Regions from separate parts of the Homo sapiens genome. Here region 2 is linked to region 1. Evidence: promoter capture Hi-C in human tissues and cell types (Jung and others, 2019). All regions are on one chromosome and are shown on one strand. The core of a region is centred on a gene start or on the middle of the fragment in contact, and the rest is flanking DNA. Distances in the headings are between cores, read along the strand shown. Region 1 holds the start of CDH2 (cadherin 2). Region 2 overlaps CDH2 (cadherin 2).

Evidence for each region. The method cuts DNA at HindIII sites, captures the fragments that hold promoters and counts their contacts. A contact is called where the count stands out against the background at its distance.
Region 2: a fragment that was not itself captured here is called in contact with the fragment with the promoter of CDH2 in region 1 in 1 of the 25 tissues and cell types used here (hippocampus).

Annotation. Positions count from the first base shown.
Region 1 is chr18:28,175,345-28,178,836 of GRCh38, reverse strand. CDH2 (cadherin 2) reads left to right here and starts at 1,707. Exons shown (of 16, transcript NM_001792.5): 1 at 1,707-1,874. The coding sequence starts at 1,815. The HindIII fragment of the contact is 9,493 bases long and covers 1-3,492 here.
Region 2 is chr18:28,042,637-28,046,128 of GRCh38, reverse strand. The region is part of intron 2 of CDH2 (cadherin 2); the gene reads left to right. Among named protein-coding and RNA genes, the nearest start is that of CDH2-AS1, 120 kb to the right of the region's middle. The HindIII fragment of the contact is 3,794 bases long and covers 1-3,427 here.

The sequences.
Region 1 (3,492 bases), core at 458-2,957:
GTGAGAATTCTGTATCAGTCATTTTATCTTTTATATAATCCTATTTTCTCAAGTTCCGGCTTTTAGTTTCTCTCTTTTTTAAAAATTGTTGTTAGGGGTGGTAGGAGAGGGTAAAAGTACCCTGAAACTGTTGGCCCCAAATGTGAACAGTACCACTAACAGGTAGTAATAGAAATAGAAAACGGGAGATTTCAAATAAAATAACAAACATGCACTCTCAAACTCCCAGAGGGGACAAAAGAAAACAAAACAAGAACACAAAAACTTGGGCTGTTCCAGTACATCCTCAAGGGTGGGAGCTGAAGGTGCGAGCTCCAGAGAGGAGCCGCGGCCTCCGCCCTCCCCCGCCCGCAGGTGGCTCCCGGCGAGCGCCTCAGACAACAATAGCTAGGATGAGCTTGGCCTGCGTCCTTAGTTTGCTGTGTCTGCCCCTGCCAGGAAAGATTACCCATCTCCAAAGAATGACAAAATAAAGAAGCGTACGTTAGGCTCCCAAGGAGACACCGCCCCCCCTTCCCCACCATTCTTCATCTCCATTAGATTCCCTACCGCGGACCAAAGATGAACCTGCTACCAATCAAGTTCCTGCCCAAGTTATTTTATTTCCCGCAGCCCCTCCACCTGCCGGGGCGGTGCTCGGCGCACTCTAGGCTTCCCTCCGGCGACCCCCCGCGGGCTGCAGCAAAATACGGGGCGCTTCGGCGGGGCGGGGGCGGGCGGCTGCCGCGGATCCGGCCGGCTACAGCCGCAGCTTGGTGGCCTCCGATTGGCCACGACGCGGGCGGGGAGGCTCGGCGGAGGAGGGAGGCGGGGGCGAGGGCGGCGGCGGCGGCGGGAGGAATAGGAGAGGGGAGCGGGCCGCGCAGCCAGGCAGCGCGTGGGGCGAGCGCGGGGAGAGCGGCGGCGGCTCGCCCAGGTCGCGCAGCGGAGGCCGAGCGGGGTGCGCGGTCGGCGACGGAGGGCGGCGCGCGCGAGTGAGCGGCGCAGGGCGAGGACCGGCGGGCGGGTGCCGGTGCGCGGGCAGCAGGGGCGGCTGCGGCAGCAGCTGCGCGGGACGGAGCCGCGGCGGGAGAGACCGCGCCGGCCCCTCGCCTCACCCCCTTGCGGCCGAGGCCGGAGAACAGTCTCCAACTCGCCGGGGGACCGGAAAGAGGAGCCGAGAAGCGCCCCTCGGCCCCCACGCAGCGGAGGCGCGGAGTGGCGGGACTGCTGCTCTTTGTGGGTGCAGCACGCACGACCCGGAGCGCCCTCCCCGCGGCGCTGTCCCCGGCGTCTTCGTCGCGCCGAGCGGCCCTGGAGCGGGGACCCGGAGGAAGCAAAACCACGAGCCCGAAACCTCGCGTGGCGGAGCTCTTGGGGAGCGCCATCCGCTCCACTTCCACCTCCACATCCTCCACCGGCCAAGGTCCCCGCCGCTGCATCCCTCGCGGCTTCCGCTGCGCTCCGGGCCGGAGCCGAGCCGCCTGCGCTGCCACAGCAGCCGCCTCCACACACTCGCAGACGCTCACACGCTCTCCCTCCCTGTTCCCCCGCCCCCTCCCCAGCTCCTTGATCTCTGGGTCTGTTTTATTACTCCTGGTGCGAGTCCCGCGGACTCCGCGGCCCGCTATTTGTCATCAGCTCGCTCTCCATTGGCGGGGAGCGGAGAGCAGCGAAGAAGGGGGTGGGGAGGGGAGGGGAAGGGAAGGGGGTGGAAACTGCCTGGAGCCGTTTCTCCGCGCCGCTGTTGGTGCTGCCGCTGCCTCCTCCTCCTCCGCCGCCGCCGCCGCCGCCGCCGCCTCCTCCGGCTCTTCGCTCGGCCCCTCTCCGCCTCCATGTGCCGGATAGCGGGAGCGCTGCGGACCCTGCTGCCGCTGCTGGCGGCCCTGCTTCAGGTACGCGGCGGTCCCCGCGGGCCGGGCCACGGGCGGGGTGGGGCGGGCGGCGCCGGGTCCCTTTGTTCCCCGCGCCGCTGCGGGGCCGGGCTGCGCACCCGGGAAGGGAGGTGCCACGCCGCGCCGCGCCGCGCCGCGCGGCCGGTAGCTGCGCAGGCATCGGGCTCCGTCCGGGCGCCGGGGCAGGGTTGCCGGGGCCAGTAGGTCTCTCGCGCCTTTCCTGGCGGGGCTCTAGGGGCTGGATTGCGGGTCCCCTCTGCTCCTTCTTCGGGGCCGAGCAAGCTCGCGGGGGGTGTCCCCAGGCAGCAGGAGGGTGAGGCAGGATAACTCCCAGGTTTTGCAGTTTTCTGTGCCTTTCGCCCCTCGCATAGTACTTTGCTCCAATTTTTTTGTTTATTTCTGCAGGGATGGGTCGCGAGTTTACAGTAGGAATTCTCACTCTGGTGTCTTAGTTACGGGACTTGCCTCCACCTTACCCCACCCTGCACCCGTGCGCCTCCCGGTGCTCAAGGGCTCTACTGTCCTATTGTCTTTATCCCAGTCTGGAGTTGCCTCCTTTTCTTCTTCTCTTGCCCTCACAATATTCTGTGTTCGTCCCACCTGGAAAGAAAATCTGGCCCTCTTGCCCGGAGGAGTCTCTGCCGGTCAGCGCCTGCCTGTAGAACGAGTCTGGCCTCTCACGCCTAGTATCTCCCCCGGGCGAGAAGTTCCGTTACGCGGCTGCTCCTTTCTCTGTCCGGCTGCCTGTGCCCTATATGCGCCCCGGGGGCGCCTTTGCCTGGAGCCTTCCGTACTTTTCATACCCTCGGGAGAGAGCCAGCGAGCCTTTTCATTTAATCTCTACTAAGAGGCTCCTCCGCGGCAGGAAGCACCTGCTCCAGTCCGGGCGCAGGTTCCCTCGCCACTGCACGCTGCGGGTTCCCAGCCCGGGGGCAGCCCAACTTTCCGCCGCCTCCAACCCGAGGATGCCCCCAGGCTCCTCCCGACCAGCCAGCCCAGGCCTGGAGGCCACTTCACACAGCCTCGGCCGGGACCCTCTAGCTGGGCGGGTGCAGTGCCCTGGTCCCAAGTCGGTCTCCGCCTGCCGTGGGGTCCCTCGAAGGTTGCGGGAAAGGGGCGTGCCCACCCTCGCCGCGGGGCAGGAAAATCCACGGAGGGTCCCCCTGCCTGTCGCCCTCGGGGCAAGGGGAGAGGTGCTCTACTGCCAGCTGGCAGCCCCGAAAAGTGCGGACGCAGCTCGGAAGTGCCTGCTCCGGGGGTGGAGACAGGTGGTGTGGATTACCCCGCTCCGTGGTCTTCACGGGTCAGGGCCTGGCGCGCTCCGGCCCGCCGGGGGGTGAGTGCTGCTGGGGCGGGGGCAGGGGCTGGACGGGGCTGGCCTCCGCAGTCTCTCGCGCTTTCTCCCGCAACCCCTAGACGGTCGTGGGCCGCCGCCGCGCGGAGCCCTGTCCATGGTGCGCCATGGTGCGGCACGCCTGTCCCTGCCCGGCTCCACGCTCTCCTCCCGGGTCGTGCTCTCTCACTTTGTCTCTCCCCACCCCTGCCTCCCAGGCCAGGGTCCCAGCGTTCCTTTTCCCTTTCTTGGATTTCTTCTTTTGTTCTTTAGTCTCCTACCGGT
Region 2 (3,492 bases), core at 281-2,780, 130 kb after region 1:
TCAAACGCCATCTTATAGAAAGGAATGCTTGACTCAGCCCCCTTTGGAATGATGCATCAGCTTTATCACATACTTGACTACCTTAAATAAGGCATCCTGCACAACTCTGATGGAGTGTTTTCTTAATGAGCAGAAATCATAAAGATGAACAGTTACTGTATTCAGTATCATTGTCGGTCCAGTGATAGTCACTGAGCTGAATGTCTACAGACTCCAGAAAATAACCTGAACTTTACTGTTAATTATTCAGTTCTCTCAGTTGTCTTTTTCTGCTTTCTACCTTTATTCATTCAGCAGGCAGATCTCAAGAGCCTGTTTTGTGCCGGGCTCTGAGCTGAGCACCAGAGCTTCTAAAGGAAGCTTCGGTTTGGGAAAATATGTAAACAGGCATGTGAAATTCAGCTTTGAGTGCTGTGATGGAAGCATTTAAAGAGTACAGTTGAAGCACACATGTGGGGGAGGGCTTTGTCTGCTGGGACGTCATAAAGGAAATGACCCTTAAAAGATGAGTAGCCACTGGCCCAGGTGCTTAAGTAAGAGTGTTCCACTCAGATAGGCTAGCATGAGCAAGGCAGAAGCCTGAAACAGTTGGATGTGTTCCAGAAACTGTAAGCAATTGAATACAATGGAAATGAAGTTCATTTACAAGACCATGATGAGAGAATTGACTTTTAGGCTGTGGCCACATTGTTGAAGGACATGTGTAACACTCAAAGGAGTAGGTCTTTCTTTTCTAATCAATGGAGAGCTATTTATAAGTTTAAACCTGATAAGCTTTGGGTTTTACAAAGACTTATTCATCAGCTGTTGGGAGGGTAAATTTGGTGAGTACAACAAGGACAAACTAGCTCAGTTAGGAAGCTATTACTAGAGGCCTCATAAGAGGTTTAGAGAATCTATGTGCCTGGGAGAAGTGGAGAGGATATAACCTTTATCCTTAGAGGTAAAGTCTAGAGGGCTTGAAGACCAGTTGGATGAGGAAGAACTATAAGATTATCATACTTAACGGCTGAGGTACTGGTAGATGGTGAGCGGTGTAGGAGAACCCAGGCTCAGAGGAATGTGGGTGTTAATTTTTCTTTTTGAATTTGGAATTTGAGGTCTATCTACCTGAAAATTTCATGTAGCTACTTAGATCTATTGCTCTGAATAGCAAGAAAGTTCTGGGATAGAGATAATGAATTTAAGTCATAATGAAATATAATGAATCTCATTTATAGAAAACATTCTATGTGCCAGGACCTGTTTACACACACACACACACACACACACACACACGATGTTATATATTATCTTTTTAAAATCTTCAGTATAATTCTAGGAACAAGATATTATCTTCATTTTTTTTTTGACAAGTAACTAAGGCTTAGAGAAGTTGAAAACATGTGCAAGCTTCCACATCTAATAATTAGCAGGCCCATCATTGAACCATTGAACCCAAACATACTGTTAAAATAATGTTCACTGTGTTTTCCATTATTATTTTTAATAGTGTTTTAGAATGGGAAGCAAGGCATGTATGCACTTCGCATGTCATTGAGTAGATAGGCCTGGATTTGAAAGCCTATAGAAGTGTCATAACAGAGAATATTGGAATATTTATAGTCTTAATTTTATCTTATTGACAGTAGGAAGCATTGAAAGTTTTTAGCAAGATGAATAGAAAAGGGGAATGGATCAGTGGGAGGGGGTGTGATAGTATTCTTTTGGATGGAAGTAACAGAACCCAGTTTAAGCAAAAGGAATTGTTTACTGGAAGAATATACCAGGAAAACCTTGGAGAAACAATGTAAGGGGTTAACAGGCAAAATGTGAACAGTTTCTAGAATTCCACCTCCAGGGTACAGCCAGCAAATTAGCGCAGCTGCCAACTGGTTCTTGTCTTTATTTACCTCTGTTCAAATGTCCAAGAGGCTAGCAGGGCGTGGTGGCCCATGCCTGTAATCCTGACACTCTGGGAGGCTGAGGCGGGTGGATCACTTGAGATCAGGAGTTAAAGACCAGCCTGGCCAACATGGTGAAAACCTATCTCTACTAAAAATATAAAAATCAGCTGGGCGTGGTGGCAGGTGCCTGTAATCCCAGCTACTCAGGAGGCTGAGGCAGGAGAATCGCTTGAACCCGGGAGGCAGAGGTTGCAGTGAGCTGAGATCATGCCACTGCACTGTAGCCTGAGTGACAGAGCAAGAGAAGTACTCTGTCTCCAAAAAAAAAAAAAAAAAAAAAAAAAAAAAAAAATCCGAGATTCTGAGAAAGATGAGACTGAGATGAGTGGCCCAGCCTGAGGATGGCCACTCACAGCTAAAGCAGTCTGCTGTGATCATTCACTTGTAACACAACATCTCCAGCTCCTTTAGGTCTTTTGTTCAACTCTTGACCTTAGAAAATCATTTTCTTCTTTCTTTACTTGTTAACTCAGAATGAGACTTTTCAAAGAGGATGATAATAAGAATAGTGCTGGTGGGGAATTTATTTCAAGAGGAAAAACCATAAAGTTTGGAGTGAAATTAGATGTAATGGAAGAAAACTCAGTGCCATCAGCCACTAGGGGTCTAGTTTAAGTGTCCTTAAAGCTCATAAGTCCCCATCAACTACTTCAAATCAAACCTGTTTATATATATATATATATATATTTATATATATATATATATATATATATATATATATTTATTTATATCAGTAATTTTTAGGGTACAGGTGGTTTTTGGTTATATGGATAAGTTCTTTAGTAGTGATTTCTGAGATTTTGGTGTACCTGTCACCCAAGCAGTGTACACTGTACCCAGTGTGTAACCTTTTATCCTTCACCCGCCTCCCACCCTTCCCCGTGAGTCCCCAAAGTCCATTATATTAATATTATTCTTATGCCTTTGTATCCTCATAGCTTAGCTCCCGCTTATAAGTGAGAACATATGATATTTGGTTTTCTATTCCTGAGTTACCTCACTTAGAATAATGGCCTCCAGCTCCATCCAAGTTGCTGCAAAGGCCATTATTTTGTTCCGTTTTATGACTGAGTAGTATTCCATGGTGTATATATATATCACAGCCAACAAATAGTTGATTTCTTTTTAACTATATGCTGATGATAATTCTTGCTTTAATATTGGCAACAACTGACTGGCAGTGCCAGAAACAGAAGCAAATCTCTTCTTGACTGATTGAATACAAATAAAATTTGCAAATAGTTTTTATTATGATCCATATCTTCGATTTTCAAATATCAACATTATGTTTCCTTAGTAGGAAGGAGCTTTGTTATTCCTTCCATCCCTGTATGAGGCCTAGTTTCCAGCTAGAAGCATTTACTCTGATTTTTATTATTCTTTTTCTTTGCTGGAAAAGACGAGATCCTAAATTTATAGACTTCAAACAGAAGGAATGCTAACATTGTACTTTTAAATCCTTAATTTCCTGTAGTAACTTGTTCTTATCGATGCAAATCTTGCTTTAATTTTTCATAAACTTGTGTGTGTGTATATTTTTATGGTT